Linked DNA regions of Homo sapiens: all the other regions are linked to region 1. Evidence: promoter capture Hi-C in 16 types of primary human blood cells and fetal thymus (Javierre and others, 2016). All regions are on one chromosome and are shown on one strand. The core of a region is centred on a gene start or on the middle of the fragment in contact, and the rest is flanking DNA. Distances in the headings are between cores, read along the strand shown. Region 1 holds the start of RAB26 (RAB26, member RAS oncogene family). Region 2 has its middle 5.7 kb from the start of ATP6V0C. Region 3 overlaps CCNF (cyclin F). Region 4 overlaps FAHD1 (fumarylacetoacetate hydrolase domain containing 1).

What was found. Contacts are between HindIII fragments. The CHiCAGO score rates a contact against its expected background, and 5 or more counts as called.
Region 2: a fragment that was not itself captured here is called in contact with the fragment with the promoter of RAB26 in region 1 in 3 of 17 cell types (erythroblasts, M0 macrophages and fetal thymus); the score reaches 6.4 in erythroblasts.
Region 3: a contact is called between a fragment that was not itself captured here and the fragment with the promoter of RAB26 in region 1, in 5 of 17 cell types (fetal thymus, naive CD4 T cells, total CD8 T cells and 2 more). The highest score is 11.6, in fetal thymus.
Region 4: a contact is called between a fragment that was not itself captured here and the fragment with the promoter of RAB26 in region 1, in 2 of 17 cell types (erythroblasts and M0 macrophages). The highest score is 7.8, in erythroblasts.

Annotation. Positions count from the first base shown.
Region 1 is chr16:2,146,672-2,150,215 of GRCh38, forward strand. RAB26 (RAB26, member RAS oncogene family) reads left to right here and starts at 1,954. Exons shown (of 9, transcript NM_014353.5): 1 at 1,954-2,307; 2 at 3,270-3,380. The coding sequence starts at 2,113. RefSeq lists enhancers at 955-1,506, 1,507-2,056, 2,057-2,608, 2,609-3,160, 3,161-3,544 and 1 more and silencers at 1,595-1,644, 1,655-1,924, 1,935-2,024, 2,115-2,284, 2,295-2,424 and 1 more. The HindIII fragment of the contact is 14,976 bases long and covers 1-3,544 here.
Region 2 is chr16:2,506,442-2,509,985 of GRCh38, forward strand. No RefSeq gene overlaps it. Among named protein-coding and RNA genes, the nearest start is that of ATP6V0C, 5.7 kb to the right of the region's middle. RefSeq lists enhancers at 748-1,248, 1,249-1,749, 3,396-3,505. The HindIII fragment of the contact is 1,938 bases long and covers 892-2,829 here.
Region 3 is chr16:2,456,377-2,459,920 of GRCh38, forward strand. It overlaps CCNF (cyclin F), which reads left to right. Exons shown (of 17, transcript NM_001761.3): 17 at 169-2,478. The coding sequence ends at 644. It overlaps LOC105371050 (a long non-coding RNA gene), which reads right to left. Exons shown (of 5, transcript NR_188689.1): 1 at 3,538-3,544; 2 at 3,337-3,460; 3 at 2,434-2,578; 4 at 458-590; 5 at 1-209. Among named protein-coding and RNA genes, the nearest start is that of TEDC2, 2.0 kb to the right of the region's middle. RefSeq lists enhancers at 2,207-3,021, 3,252-3,341. The HindIII fragment of the contact is 2,703 bases long and covers 938-3,544 here.
Region 4 is chr16:1,827,682-1,831,225 of GRCh38, forward strand. FAHD1 (fumarylacetoacetate hydrolase domain containing 1) reads left to right here. Exons shown (of 1, transcript NM_031208.4): 1 at 1-1,229. The coding sequence ends at 223. Among named protein-coding and RNA genes, the nearest start is that of FAHD1, 2.2 kb to the left of the region's middle. The HindIII fragment of the contact is 1,222 bases long and covers 1,684-2,905 here.

The DNA of each region.
Region 1 (3,544 bases), core at 704-3,203:
GGGGTCTGTGATGCAGGCACCCAGAGCTCCCCATTTTCAAGAGAAACCAGAGACTTGGATTTTTATGTAAACTCTCCTAATTTTAAAGGTTGCCAGCGCAAGCCCGTTTCCTCTGCTCTCTCAAGGCTCCCCTCCCCGCCTGGCCTCCCACTTTCTCCAGCGCGCCTGCCTCCTTCTCTTCCTGGGGGCCCCATCCGCACTCCTCCCCCTGCAGGATGCCCTACTTGCACCCAACTCCTCCTGCTGCCCGCGCCCTGGGGGTACCTGAGCAGCAGCTGGCAGGACGGGGTCCACTGGACTGGGAGTCCACTGCCCAGGACCCTGGGGCCAGTGCACAGCAGCTGCTGAGGCCCCCAGCTCAGACCCTGGGCCAGCCATCCTGAAAGAGGCCTTGTAGCGCGGGTGGACACCTGGAGTCCCCAGGGCTGCAGCTGCAGAAGCTAAATGCCTCTACCCAGGCCCAGTGCACACACACTGGGGGTTGGTCTGGAAGAGCTGGGGGGCCAGAGGAGTGAGACAAGGAAGGGTTCTGAGAGGGCTTCCGGGTTTGACCCCCAGCTCTGCCAGGTTCCTGGGGATTAAGTCTACAGGGATTTCTGCCATGGGACGGTTTATGTTCTCTGGAGCTGGAGATCACAGGAACAAATCCTAGCTCTGCCCTTCCTAGCCTGCTGACCTTGCACAGGCTCCTTGCCTTTCTGGGCCTCGGTTTCCCCATCTGGACACTGAGGGCAGTACCCACCTTGCAGGATAACTTTGAAGAGGTCGTGTGCCTGGCACACAACAGTGCTTGCTGTAGGGCAGGCTTCCACGGCCTCTGCCAGGCCCTCTCGAGGAATCACTCTGCTGGGCAGTGCCCCCCATCTGTGTTTTCTCAGGCCTCTGACCCGAGAGGCAGCCAATTGTTTGGACTCTGGGCACTGCCAGCTGGGAGGGCTCAGGTCTCTGAAGGGCCCAAGGTCCTGGTGACAGCTGTCAGGTCTCCGGGGACAGCTGGGTCATCTCTCCAGCTCCCAAAGAAACACCAAGAAGCCCCTGCATGCCAAGGACACCACCCCTCTGGACCACTGTGCCCCAGCTCTGACCACTGCAGTCCCATCTTCTCTGTGAGAGGGGGTGACAGAGCTCCAGTGCAGCCCAGGTTGGGGAGGTGGGTCTGCCAGGGACCAGCTTAGGATTTGGAGAATCGGCCCTGGCCACCTGAAGGTCCGAACCTGGAGGAGAAGGACAAGGGGCCAGCCACACAGCCTGGGCAGGGGCCTCTGCTTTCCACCTTTCAGACCCTGAGGGCAGAGTCCCGTGGGAGGGGACCCTCAGGGGGCCGGGGGCTGGCTGCCACAGCGACTTCCTCCTTCCCGCAGATCCCCAGGCGTGCACAGCAGGCAGAAGCTGTGGGGGAGATCGCAGCGCCCGCTGTGTCCTCCCGGTGACCAGCTGTCACCTGAGCCCAGGGCGCCTGCCCCAGCAGCCTGGTGTGTTTGCCAAGCCAGGGCTGGAGCTTCCTGGACCCGCCTACCCTGGAGGGGATGGAGCAGTGAAGGGCACCGGGCCAAGCGCTAGGCATCTGGGGCTAAGGAGACAGAAGCCCGCGGTGCCCGTCCATGCGGGCCCTCTGCCCCAGCACCCACATCTCAGGACACCCCTTCCTCCCAGGTCTGGCGGTCCAGTTTGGGGGTCACCGAGCTGGGGTGGTGTGCAGCCAGCAGAGGGGATTCAGGATCCCGGGGTGACTCCTGGCCCAGGCCTGTCACCCCACAGCTGGCTCCTGGCCCCAAGGCAGCCACGGGCAGGGGTCGTGATCGGGGGCGGGACGGGGCCCGGACCTCCTGACCGCCCCCCACCCCCCGCCGAGCGGGGGTGTATTTGCATGTCCCCGCCCCACGCACGGCATTGGCGGCGGCGGCGGGAGGCCGGGCCTGAGTGGCTGCGCGCCCGTGGAGCGGCGGGGGCGGGGCGCGAGCCGGGCGCCCGGGATGATGCCGCCGCCGCCGCCGCCGCCGCCGCCGCCGCCAGGGGAAGGGTTCGGGTCCGGGTCGGGCTCGGCGGGCGCGGGGTGCGGGACGGCCCAGGGCACGGCGGCTGCAGCGGGAGCACACTGAGCGCCCGCCCGCCATGTCCAGGAAGAAGACCCCCAAGAGCAAAGGGGCCAGCACCCCCGCTGCCTCCACGCTGCCCACCGCCAACGGGGCCCGACCGGCGCGCTCCGGGACTGCGCTTTCCGGCCCCGACGCGCCGCCCAACGGGCCCTTGCAGCCCGGCCGGCCCTCGCTTGGCGGCGGTGTCGACTTCTACGACGTCGCCTTCAAGGTGAGCCAGGCACCCGCCCCCCAGGCCAGCGCAGCAGGTGGCGCCCGGCCTGAGCCAAGGGTTGGGGGTCGGACAGGGGGTGCAGGGCCCGCGGCCCCAGGGCGCGGAGCCGACGCGGGAGGAACCCCGTGGGGCTTGCACGGTGCATCGTGCACACACAGCTGTCCATCCCAGGTCTGGGGTATCCAACAGCTGGCAGGGCCTGTCCCCCACCCCCCAGGCGGCATGGTGGCACAAGGGGTCCCGCGCCCCAGTGCCCTGGCCCCCGCCCGGGGTCTCACCATTTCCCGTATGCTGCCCTCCCTCAACCCAGCGGCTGTGGGCCTTTTTTTTTTTTTTTTTTTTTTGCTGGGGGGAAGAGGTTTGCCAGATGGATGGGGAACCCTGGGACTCCAGACCAAGGCAGAGGCTGTGTGGACTTGGCAGGGGGCTGGGAGGACCATTTTGGGTTTGGTAGCACAGGTTTCGGGGAGAAGGCCTGACTGCTGCCCACTTGCACCTCCCCCCAACCTCAGACTTGGCCCAGGTCCCTCTTCAGATCGAGATCTGATCCTAATGGGGCAAATTCCTCGAGCCTTGCTGGGGTCATGTCCCTACTGGGATGTGGAGAAGCCCCCGGCAGAGGCCTCCCCAAGTCTCTTAGGAGGTACCCAGCTGCCACCCCACCTGCTCCCCTCCCAGATGCTGTCCACCGTGTGGGGGTATGGACGTTAGGGAGGGTCCGGGATGCAGGTGGCTGCCCTCACTCCCCGCTGACTGAGACGGCCACTGTGCAGAAGGACAGAGCAGCCCCAGCCTTTCAGAGGCATACGCTGGGTGTCCAGCCCATCGGGGTCCCTGGCCCCGCTGAGCCTGCAGGCCTGGGCTGCCTCCCTCCACTCCTGCTCCTCACCTGCAGCCCCCTTCTGACCAGGCCAGCTCAGGGCAGACCAGACTCCCCCCAACCCTCCTGCTTGTCCTAGGTCATGCTGGTGGGGGACTCGGGTGTGGGGAAGACCTGTCTGCTGGTGCGATTCAAGGATGGTGCTTTCCTGGCGGGGACCTTCATCTCCACCGTAGGCATTGACTTCCGGGTGAGTGGAGGCCCTGGCCTGGCCCCACATCAGAGTCCCGCCGGTACCCGAGCAGCAAGTTCTCTCTGATCCCCATGGTACCAACAGGCTCGAGGCCTGGACCCCAGAAGCTGCCTGCCTCGACCTTCCAACACCTGGGCTGGTGGCTGCACCCGACAAGCATA
Region 2 (3,544 bases), core at 611-3,110, 360 kb after region 1:
CTCCTGGGTTCACACCATTCTCCTGCCTCAGCCTCCCGAGTAGCTGGGACTACAGGCACCTGCCACCACGCCCGGCTAATTTTTTTGTATTTTTAGTAGAGACGGGGTTTCACCCTGTTAGCTAGGATGGAATTATCTCCTGACCTCGTGATCCACCCGCCTCGGCCTCGCAAAGTGCTGGGATTACAGGCGTGAGCCACCGCGCCTGGCCACGTCAATATTAATGAATGTCTTTTTTTTTGTTTGAGACGGAGTCTTGCTGTATCGCCCAGCCTGGAATGTGGTGGTGCGATCTTGGCTCACTGCAACTTCCAACTTCCAGGTTTGAGGTATCCTCCTGCCTCAGCCTCCTGAGTAGCTGGGATTACAGGCACCTGCCACCATGTCCGGCTAATTTTTGTATTTTCAGTAGAGACCGGATTTCACCATGTTGGCCGGGCTGGTCCCTAACTCCTGGCCTCAAGTTATCCGCCTGCCTCGGCCTCCCAAAGTGCTGGGATTATAGGGGTGAGCCACCGTGCCCGGCCACGTCTTTTTAGTACCTTGTGTTTAATTGTGGATCGGTATAATACAAAGAAAAATAGAATGCCTTTTTTCTTTTGAGCCCTGCACAGATGCCCCCTCCCTGTCCAGTTCCTCCAGTGAGACCGAGGCTGCTGGGGGCCCTCCCTGCAGCTGCTGTGGAGCCTCTGCCTGCCGTCACGTGAGCTGCCTCTGCCCACTCTATGCTCCTGGGTTCCTCTTCCCCAGACTGGCCACGGGGGTGGCCCCTTCCTGCCAAGCCCTCTTTCTTTGCTCCTCTGAACACCTTCCTTCAGTACCTTCAGGGGACTGTTGGGGCAGCACCTGTCCCGGGTCTGAGAGGCCTCCTGGTCTGCTAGCCTGGCAGGAAGCTTGGCCCCCAACACAGCCACAGGCTCTCTGGCACCAGGTTTCTTTCAGTTCCTCTGAACTGAAAGCCTCTGTTTCCCGGCCTTTGCGCGTGCTATTTGCCACTCCTCATGCCTGGGCCCTAGTGTCCCTCCCAGGATTTCCCTGAGCTCCCCGCTGAGGCCGGGTCCGCGTTCTAGCTTCACAGCACCTGAGACAGGTGTTGGCTGGTCTCCCCACCCCCTGTCCTAAAGACTGTCAGTCTCAAGGGGCAGGAGTGCCTAGCACTGCAGAATGAACTGAAGCCCCTGTGGGTTGGTGTGCGCTGCTGCTGTGCGTCCAGGGTGATCAGAGATTCTCCAGGTGTGCTCCTGGGGCCTGTGGTGGCGGGACACCCCCTTCCCACACCCGCCACGCTCCCTGCAGTAACTCTTGCACTTACTGTAAGTGCTCGGACTGTCTTGTGCTTGACATTAGGACACACACTCAGGCCAGAATTGGGCAAGATTGTCCCTGAGCGGGGCGTGCAGAGCGCTCTGGCCTGGGAGGTGGGGCGCAGGGCTGCTTCCTCCTGCAGGCCAGCTCACTGTGGGGCTGGTGTCTGCCCAGAGCTTGGCCAGGCAGTGCCGCCCCCTCCCTTCCTGCCGCCTCTACCAGCAGCCTTCCCTCAGGCTGCTTTCCGGGCCTAGTCTGTGGCAGGTGTCCAGGGCACAGTCTTCCCTCTAGCCTGCCATGAAACTGTTTCATTTTTCTTTTAAAAAAATTGAAGTGAAATTGACATACTATCCAACCATTTGAACGACCCCAGACAGAGGTGGTGGTTGCATGAATGAGCATGTTGTGGAACCACCACCTCCAGTTCCATGGCATTTCCCCACTCCTAAAGGAAAACCTGGCCCCAGCAAGCAGCTGCTCCCCATGCCTCTCTATCTTATGACTTTGGGTTTCATTTTCATGTTTTTGTTTTTTTGAGATGGAGTCTTGCTCTGTCACCCAGGCTGGAGTGCAGTGGCATGATCTCTGCTCACTGCAACCTCCCCGTCCCGGGTTCAAGCGATTATCCTGCCTCAGCCTCCCTAGTAGCTGGGATTACAGGCACCCGCCACCACACCCGGCTAATTTTTGCATTTTTAGTACAGACGGGATTTCACCATGTCGGCCAGGCTGGTCTCCAACTCCTGACCATAGGTGATCCGCCCACTTTGGCCTCACAAAGTGCTGGGATTACAGGTGTGAGCCATGTGCCCGACCAGTCTGTGACTTACTTAAATACAGACTGGATCATGTTTCTCCCCTGCTCTATGCCCTCTCTTCATCTTTCAAGTCCTAATTCAGAGATCACCTCTTCTGCGACCCACCGAGCTAGTCCCAGCACCTCCTTCCCTTGTCCCCCCTGCTTCTAGGAACCACACTTCTGGTGCGGCATTGGCTGTACCGTTGGGGACGCTACTGCTCCCTGGTAGGCTGCCAGGTCTTGAGGGTAGGGACTCTAACTTGTCTTTGTCTGGCAGGGGCCTCACTCAGCACCTGGCACAATAGTAGGTGCTCAGGGAACTGAATGAATGGATCAGGGTCTGAGGCGGGCAAGGGCTGCGGCGGTGAGCCCTGACCCCCTGGGTGGAGTGTGAGGAGGCCGTGTTGGCCTTCAGGGTGCACCCTGAAACCAGACATGGGGTCCAGGCTGCCTAGGGCTGAGCGTTTATCTGACACCCGTTCTGAAAAACCTGGTCGTGGTGCAGGTGCAGCCCCCGGCCCTGGTCATTTGGAAGTTTGTGTCCAAAAAAACCCAATGGCTACTATAGCACCTGTGAGCCAATGGGGTCCTCCACCTGCCCACCTGCCTGCAGAAGAAACGCCGAACACTGCTGCCTAGTGGTCAGGGCCGGCTGGACTCCCTGCCCACCCCACTGGGTCCTCAAAGAGGAGGGCCCACTCAGGCCCTTTTCCATCAACCCTGAAAGCTTGGGGTGAGCGAGAAGGGGGAGCTGCCCTGTCCTTGGGGTCATTGCAGTCGTCTGCCTCCAACCTCTTGCCCCCTCAGTGCCTGCTGTCCAGCGGGAGCAGCTCAGGGCTCCACCTCCCCTGCCGCCCTCGACTTTGGGGAGCCTCCTTGCACCAAGCAGCTTGTACGGTGCCGAGTCCTACTTGCACCACGTTGTCTTTACCTCTGGCATTTTATTTTATTTAAACATGGGAGGCAGAGCTTGCGGTGAGCTGAGATTGCGCCACTGCAATCCAGCCTGGGTGACAGAGTGAGACTCCATCTCAAAAACAAAAAACAAAAAACAAAAAACTTCACTGTATCATTGTTTAAGCCTTAACTTTTAATGATAAGAAAATAAAGCACCTTTGGTCATACCCCTGATGGTACACCTGTGTTCTTGGCCCATTTCCTCCGGCCCTGCTGGGGCCACACATGGCTCTCCTGGAAGCAGGTCAAGAGTGCCCAGTGCCATCTCCCAGCATTGTGCCCCTCTGGGTGTGTCCTCAGGGCAACTCAGAAGGATAGCTGTCTCCAGGAGCAGGTGCCTGCAGGGACACTGTCATCTGCAGATGAGGCTGCCCCCCAGCCCTTTGTGATGGCTTCTTCCGGAGAAGTTGATCTCCCCAGTCACTCTTGGGACTTTATTCCTTGTCTCTTTATCCCCATCCTCCCCTACCCTTGCCGGGGTCT
Region 3 (3,544 bases), core at 1,039-3,538, 310 kb after region 1:
AACTTGGAAGAGGCATGTCACCCACGCTTCTCACCACAGGAGGGTAACACAGGGGACCGTAGCAAGGTAGAAGATTCTTGACCTGGACTTCAGGGTCCTGACCTGGCAGGGGGTCTCCCCTGATGCTTGGGTGTGACATGACTTCCCTCCCCACCAACCTTCCTGCAGTGACAGCTCCCAGCGGCATCCTCGATGTCACCGTGGTCTACCTGAACCCAGAACAGCATTGCTGCCAGGAATCCAGTGATGAGGAGGCTTGTCCAGAGGACAAGGGACCCCAGGACCCACAGGCACTGGCGCTGGACACCCAGATCCCTGCAACCCCTGGACCCAAACCCCTGGTCCGCACCAGCCGGGAGCCAGGGAAGGACGTCACGACCTCAGGGTACTCCTCCGTCAGCACCGCAAGTCCCACAAGCTCCGTGGACGGTGGCTTGGGGGCCCTGCCCCAACCTACCTCAGTGCTGTCCCTGGACAGTGACTCGCACACACAGCCCTGCCACCATCAGGCCAGGAAGTCATGTTTACAGTGTCGTCCCCCAAGTCCCCCGGAGAGCAGTGTTCCCCAGCAACAGGTGAAGCGGATAAACCTATGCATACACAGTGAGGAGGAGGACATGAACCTGGGCCTTGTGAGGCTGTAAGTGTGTCAGCACATTTGCCGCAGTGGATGTGTACTGAGGGGGCTGGAGGCGAAGGGTGGGAGCATAGCATAGGAACGCTGCATAGACCATGGAGGCCTTTGCGCAGAGAGCAGAGAGGATGACTTGCGGCCACCAAGTTTCTGTCTCCGCGGGAGTCCCGTGCAAGCCATCAGAATGTTGAAATGAGGGTGAAGAGCTCAGATCCCTCTCTTTGGAAAGTTTAGCCTGGAAGCAGTTGGCCACACTGTGTGGAGGGCACCTCTCTGTCCCTTCCGTGTCTCACTGTCTCTGGAAGCTTCAGCCCATGTGTGTCCTGGTGTTCCCAGCCCCACCAGAGCCCCGTGCCGGGAGCTGACAGCTTTCACGCTTAAGGCACGTGTGACCTGGGTAGTCAGACACCACTTGAGCCCCTGCCCACATCTGCTGGTTTGGGGCTTCAGTGGGGAGCTGACAGCTGTGAGCACACCACTGTCCCCTCATCCACCTCGGCCTGCATGGGGCACCCACTTCCTTCTGGGTGGGGCTTCCATGGTAAGGGGGCCTGCGTCCCTGCACACTGCGAGGACTGCCTTGGCCACAGGCCCACTCCCTACGACACGTGACTCGTTTTAGAGCTCTGTCCCAGAGGCGTTCGTATGTGACCCACAGATGGCGTCAATGTGAACACCTCTCTTTGTGCTGAATTTCTGGGCCATTCTTTTCCTGTCTTATTTCTAAATTTCCTTCTTCCAAGATGAAAACAAAAGAAAAACTTAAAACAGAAGGTATTAAAAAAACAAGAGATTCCCACCATTATTTAGGTTCACCTGCAAAACAAAAATCTTACTCCAGCCCCTCAATGCCATCCTGACACACTTTATGCAAAAAGAATTTTCCCAGATAGGCTAGCCAGAAAAAACTTCAAGTCCTCTGTAACATCTGAGGTGACCAAGAGGCAGAAGAGCAGAGCAGTCGGGGGCCGTGTCCTGGCTGATCCCAACTGCAGCTCTGCTGTGGGGGCCCGTGGGAGGGAGGCAGACCCCTGGGCTTTCCTGCTGGCCACGGAGACTCTGCTCCTGCATGGAAAGGGAGCCTGGGAGCCAGCAGCCCACGCCTGGGGAGCCTGCCTGGGGCCATGTGACCATGGCCTCTCCCTGGGAACGGGCTGACCACAACACACCCTGCTGCCATCCACTTCTGTTTACTCTGCAAATGTAAGAAAGAACCACTTGGCCAGAAGTGTCCCCCAGATGCTTTTTTTTTTTTTTTTTTGGAGACAGTTTTGCTCTTGTCTCCCCGGCTGGAGTGCAGTGGCATGATCTCAACTCTCAACTCACTGTAACCTCCGCCTCCCGGATACTCCTGCCTCAGCCTCCTGGGTAGCTGGGATTACAAGCACCCAACCACGCCCAGCTAATTTTTGTATTTTCGGTAGAGACGGGATTTCACCATGTTGGCCAGGCTAGTCTCGAACTCATGACCTCAAGTGATCCGCCCACTTCGGTCTCCCAAAGTGCTGGGATTACAGGCATGAGCCACGGCGCCTGGCCCCCAAATGCTCTTGAACCGGAAACCCAGGGATGGGAGATGCTCACTGAGCTGCTGCTTTTATGTGTGCTGGTGCTATGTGTGTTCATGTCCGCGGCAGCTGTCTTTTTGCTACTATAAGGGAATTCTGGCCACCCTGGGTGGGGTGTGGTCGGGGTGAGAACCCAAGCGTTGGAACTGTAGACCCGTCCTGTCGACTGTGTGCCCCTGGGCATGTGTGAGCCTCAGTTTCCTCATCTGTAAGGGGGGCAATGATACCTACCTCACAGGGGTGTTGTGAGGATTAAATGTGAGGAGGATAGTGGCAGATGAGTGATGGACGTCCTTCACTGCCTCGGCCCCTTGTCCAGGGGCTCTTAATCCCAACTCTGCATGGAGTCAGTTCTCTGCTTTCTCCCAGCTTGCACCTGAAGGAGGAAACCACTCCAGGGGGACCTGGCCCCGCCTGCCTGTGGTGGGTGGGTTCCTGCATCACCCACCTGCTGACTGAGCATTTCCCTGCCTCCTCCTTCACAGAGAATCTCCAGGGAGGCAGGGCCACCGTCACCCTCCCCCACCGCTGATGGAGGGGCCCACCCGGAGCGCTGGGCCAGAGCTGCCTGGGTCCCAACCTCCCTGACAACTCCCTTTGTGCCCTCCTTCCCCTCTGCGATGGCACCTTCCCATTAACGACTATGGAATGGACTCACCTGTCCCATCTTTAAACAGCAACCCCAGGCTCTGTTTTTCTTTCAGCTACCGCCTGGGATTTCTTGCCCCCTAATTGTTTATTCTTGTTAACACCAACTACATGGGGCCCTGCTGCCTTCCTCACTTCCTCCCTCAGGTGTCCCCCGCATCACCGAAGGCCCTGTACCCCCGCCCCCCTGCTGTGCTGTGTACACCGCCGAGGCCTCAGCAGCACTTGGCCTGTGACCCACTCCCTCCCGTGACAGCCTCCTGTTGCCTCTGTGACACTGTCCTACTGCTCCTCCACCTCCCTGGCCATTGCGTGGGCCCCGTGATCTGTCCCTACCCGTCCCCTGCCCCACCAGGGGCCACCTCGCCTGGCCCACTGCTCCAAGGTCTGAGCTTCCTCCCCTCTGCCCAGTGCTATCACGTCACATGTCCAAAAGTGAACACTTTCTCCTCCTTCATCCCCGCCCCTGACACGCGGAATCCTCACCTCCAGCAACCCCGTCCTGTCCCTGTGCTCGGTGGCCCAGGCGTCAGCAAGACGGCTGGTCCCTGCGTTAAGAGCACTTTCAATAAGGACAGATGGAGCCTCTCGTATAACCTTCACCGGCCCCCTGCAAGAGAAGCGCGATAATGGCGCCCCCATCTACCCAGTTACCCAAACCAAAATCCCGGCGTCGCCCGCAGTCACCTCCCTG
Region 4 (3,544 bases), core at 1,045-3,544, 320 kb before region 1:
GGTCAACGGCGAACTCAGACAGGAGGGTGAGACATCCTCCATGATTTTTTCCATCCCCTACATCATCAGCTATGTTTCTAAGATCATAACCTTGGAAGAAGGAGATATTATCTTGACTGGGACGCCAAAGGGAGTTGGACCGGTTAAAGAAAACGATGAGATCGAGGCTGGCATACACGGGCTGGTCAGTATGACATTTAAAGTGGAAAAGCCAGAATATTGAGTTATTTCTTAACAAGTTTCGAGAGAGAAGGGAGCAAGACAAGAGCAAGCAACGGCTATTAAATGTCACAATCCTTTAATTAGAAACCATTTATTGGCCGGACGCGGTGGCTCACGCCTGTAATCGCAGCACTTTGGGAGGCCGAGGCGGGCGGCTCACGACGTCAGGAGATCCAGACCATCTTGGCTAACAGGGTGAAACCCCGTCTCTACTAAAAATACAAAAAATTAGCCGGGCGTGGTGGCGGGCGCCTGTAGTCCCAGCTACTCTGGAGGCTGAGGCAGGAGAATCAATTGAACCCGGGAGGCGGAGCTTACAGTGAGCTGAGATTGCGCCACTGTACTCCTGGGCAACAGCGAGACTCCGTCTCAAAAAAAAAAAAAAAAAAAGAAACCATTTATTTTAAAAATGATTAGATTGCTATGCCTCAACTCATAGAAGATGAACCCTTCAAGAAAACGTGAAGTAGAACGGGTGGGCCAGAAATGAAAACAGGCAAGTAAAGTATTTCTTCGGAAAACATTTTATCAAACCAAATGTTAAAAAGACTTTCCTTTTGTAAAACTGGATTAGAGAAGACTTTTCAGTGGGTTATCTCTAGGATGATCAGTAGTTCAGCACTTAAAAACTGCAGAGAAAACTGAAAGTTATGTTCCAGATAACTTTCCGTTGTTTACCAAATTTTCTTAGATTTGGTCATCATCAGGAAGCATTTGTAAAAATAAAAATCTCCACAAATTACTGGCCCATCTCGGACTTGCTGAATCAATTTGATAGGATTAATCTCCAGTGAAGCTGTGTTTACAGGGCATTCCAAGTGATTCTTATCAGGAAATGTGAAAAACACTCCTGTACATAATCGGTTAATTTAAAATTTTACTTAATAAGTGAACAAGTAATGAAGATTTCACCTGTTTACTTAGGGTATCTACCCAGACCCATCGATTCTGAGTTCGGGAGATGATTTTGAAATTACTGTTTTCCAAATAAAGGTGCTCCCTTCTAAGTGGCTTACAAGGGTAATTTTTTTCCCCCCAGTAATGACGAGGAGGGATATTTCCTCCTTGTGGGGCTTCAGACCTTAGTCTTTGACCTTTGGCCTTCTGAGCACTGTGCTGTGTTAACACAGTTAATCAGCAACTGTACTTCCCAACCGGAGATAAGGAGGCTTTGTGGAAGTTGAATAGCCTGGGACTGCTGCTTTTGCTCTTGCCTGCACCCTCCTCTGAAAAAACATCCAGGCAAGATGCACAGCATAGCTGTCAATGCCTGGAGGAGTCCTTTGGGCTTCGGCAGGGGTTCCTGTTCGCGTTCACATCATCTGCTGGCCCCTGAAGAAAGCCTAGGACATCTGATTGAGTAGTAACGGTCCCCATGTATTGAACACAGTACTGTTAGGCACCATGCCAAGCAGTTTATTCTGTATTTCCACGTGTTATGTAACCAGCAACCAAGCCATAAGCTTAGTATGATCACTACCATCCCCATTACTCAGATGAAGACAGATCTAGAGGCTGCGAAGGCTGGCTAAAGTCACTCAGCTTAGTGGCAGAGCCGAGATGTAACCCAGCTCCCCCAAGACCAGAACGTGAAGTTTTGACCACAATGCAGGCTGCATCTTGTAAGTAGATACATAAGAAGAATCAGACACTTAGGTATGCTGCAACCCCATGCTTAAATTATAATATAGTATGAGGAAGTGCCATAATTGGATTTCTTTATTAAGTATCATGCTATCTTAACTACTTTTAGTATTATTTTTTCATTGCTTGGCAATGCATGTAATTACAGAAGAGTCAGAAAATAGAGATTAGCAATTAGAACAAAACACCAAAAATTTCATCTACCCAGAGACAGCCAAAGTTAAGCATTTATTGCAAGTTCTTCCAAGTCTGTGGATATAATTGTAATTTTTTAAATAGAGTTTGCTCATACCATACAATTTTCTTTTTTTTCTTTCTTTCTTTTTTCTTTTTGAGATGGCGTTTAACTCTTTTTGCCCAGGCTGGAGTGCAGTGGCACAATCTCGGCTCACTGCAACCTCTGCCTCCCAGGTTCAAGTGATTCTCCTGCCTCAGCCTCCCAAGTAGCTCAGATTACAGGCATACGCCACCACACCCGGCTAATTTTGTATTTTTAGTAGAGACAGGGTTTCACCATGTTGGTCAAGCTGGTCTCGAACTCCTGACCTCAAGTGATCCACCCGCCTGGGCGTCCCAAAGTGCTGGGATTACAGGCATGAGCCACCGTGCCCAGCTATACCATACAATTATTTAACTTGCTTATTTCACTGTATATTGTGACCATCTTTTTCCTTGTTAGCTGACACATTTCTGCAGTACAACTTTCATGGATTGCATAAGATTCTGAAGTCAAGCCTCCATTTTTGGACCTTGAGATTGTCTCTAATGATTTGCTAGTATCAGCACATGTGCTGTTTTTTCCTTTGGCTAGGTTCCCATAAGTGGAAGAGTTGGATCAAAGGGCGTGCTCATGCTGGAAGTGTATTATTAGTCTGCTACCAGGTACACGGTTCAGCTGAGATATAGCTACCAAGTTGACAGACTATTAAAGTCAAAGTTATAAAGTAGAAGCAGTGCTCACATGCAGCCCTAGTAGGTGGCACAAGCCAGCACCGAGTACAGTGCCCCTGGGGTCAGTGTTCACCACAGTGGTAGAACAAGCTTTGTCACAAACATTGACATCAGCATTGCAGGTGTAGGCACACAAAGTCCTTAGATGCAAGAATCAAAAACAGAGACACCAAGTCCGACAATTCCTGATATTGCTAAAATCATAGTAATCCTAGCATTCAGAAGATAACGTTTTTCCACGTTTTGAATACATTTAAACCTATGAAAAAGTTTAAAAACCAATACAATGAACTCCATATGCCCTTTAATAGTTTCAACAATTACCAGCATTCACTATGTTTGTCCTCTGGTCCTACGTCTCTCCCTTCCTCCCCGCCATATATGTGTATATATGCAGACATGCACCTCTCTCTCTCTATACACACACACACACACACACACACACACCCATATTTTGGAAATGCGTCGGGATGGTGACTGCAGAAAGACTCTTCCCTTTCAGCATACATCTCCCAAGAATCAGGATATTCTCCTACATGGAAATGAGACCATTATCACGCTTAAGAAAATAATTCCACAGTGTATTAGTCTGTACAGAATATATGGTTTGACATCTGTTCTTCTGTTGTGTTTTTAAAACATGTTGATTGGCCTTTTATAAAAAAATGAGTATTACACATCCACTTAATATATCACGAACATATTTCCAGGTCAGTGAATATAAGTA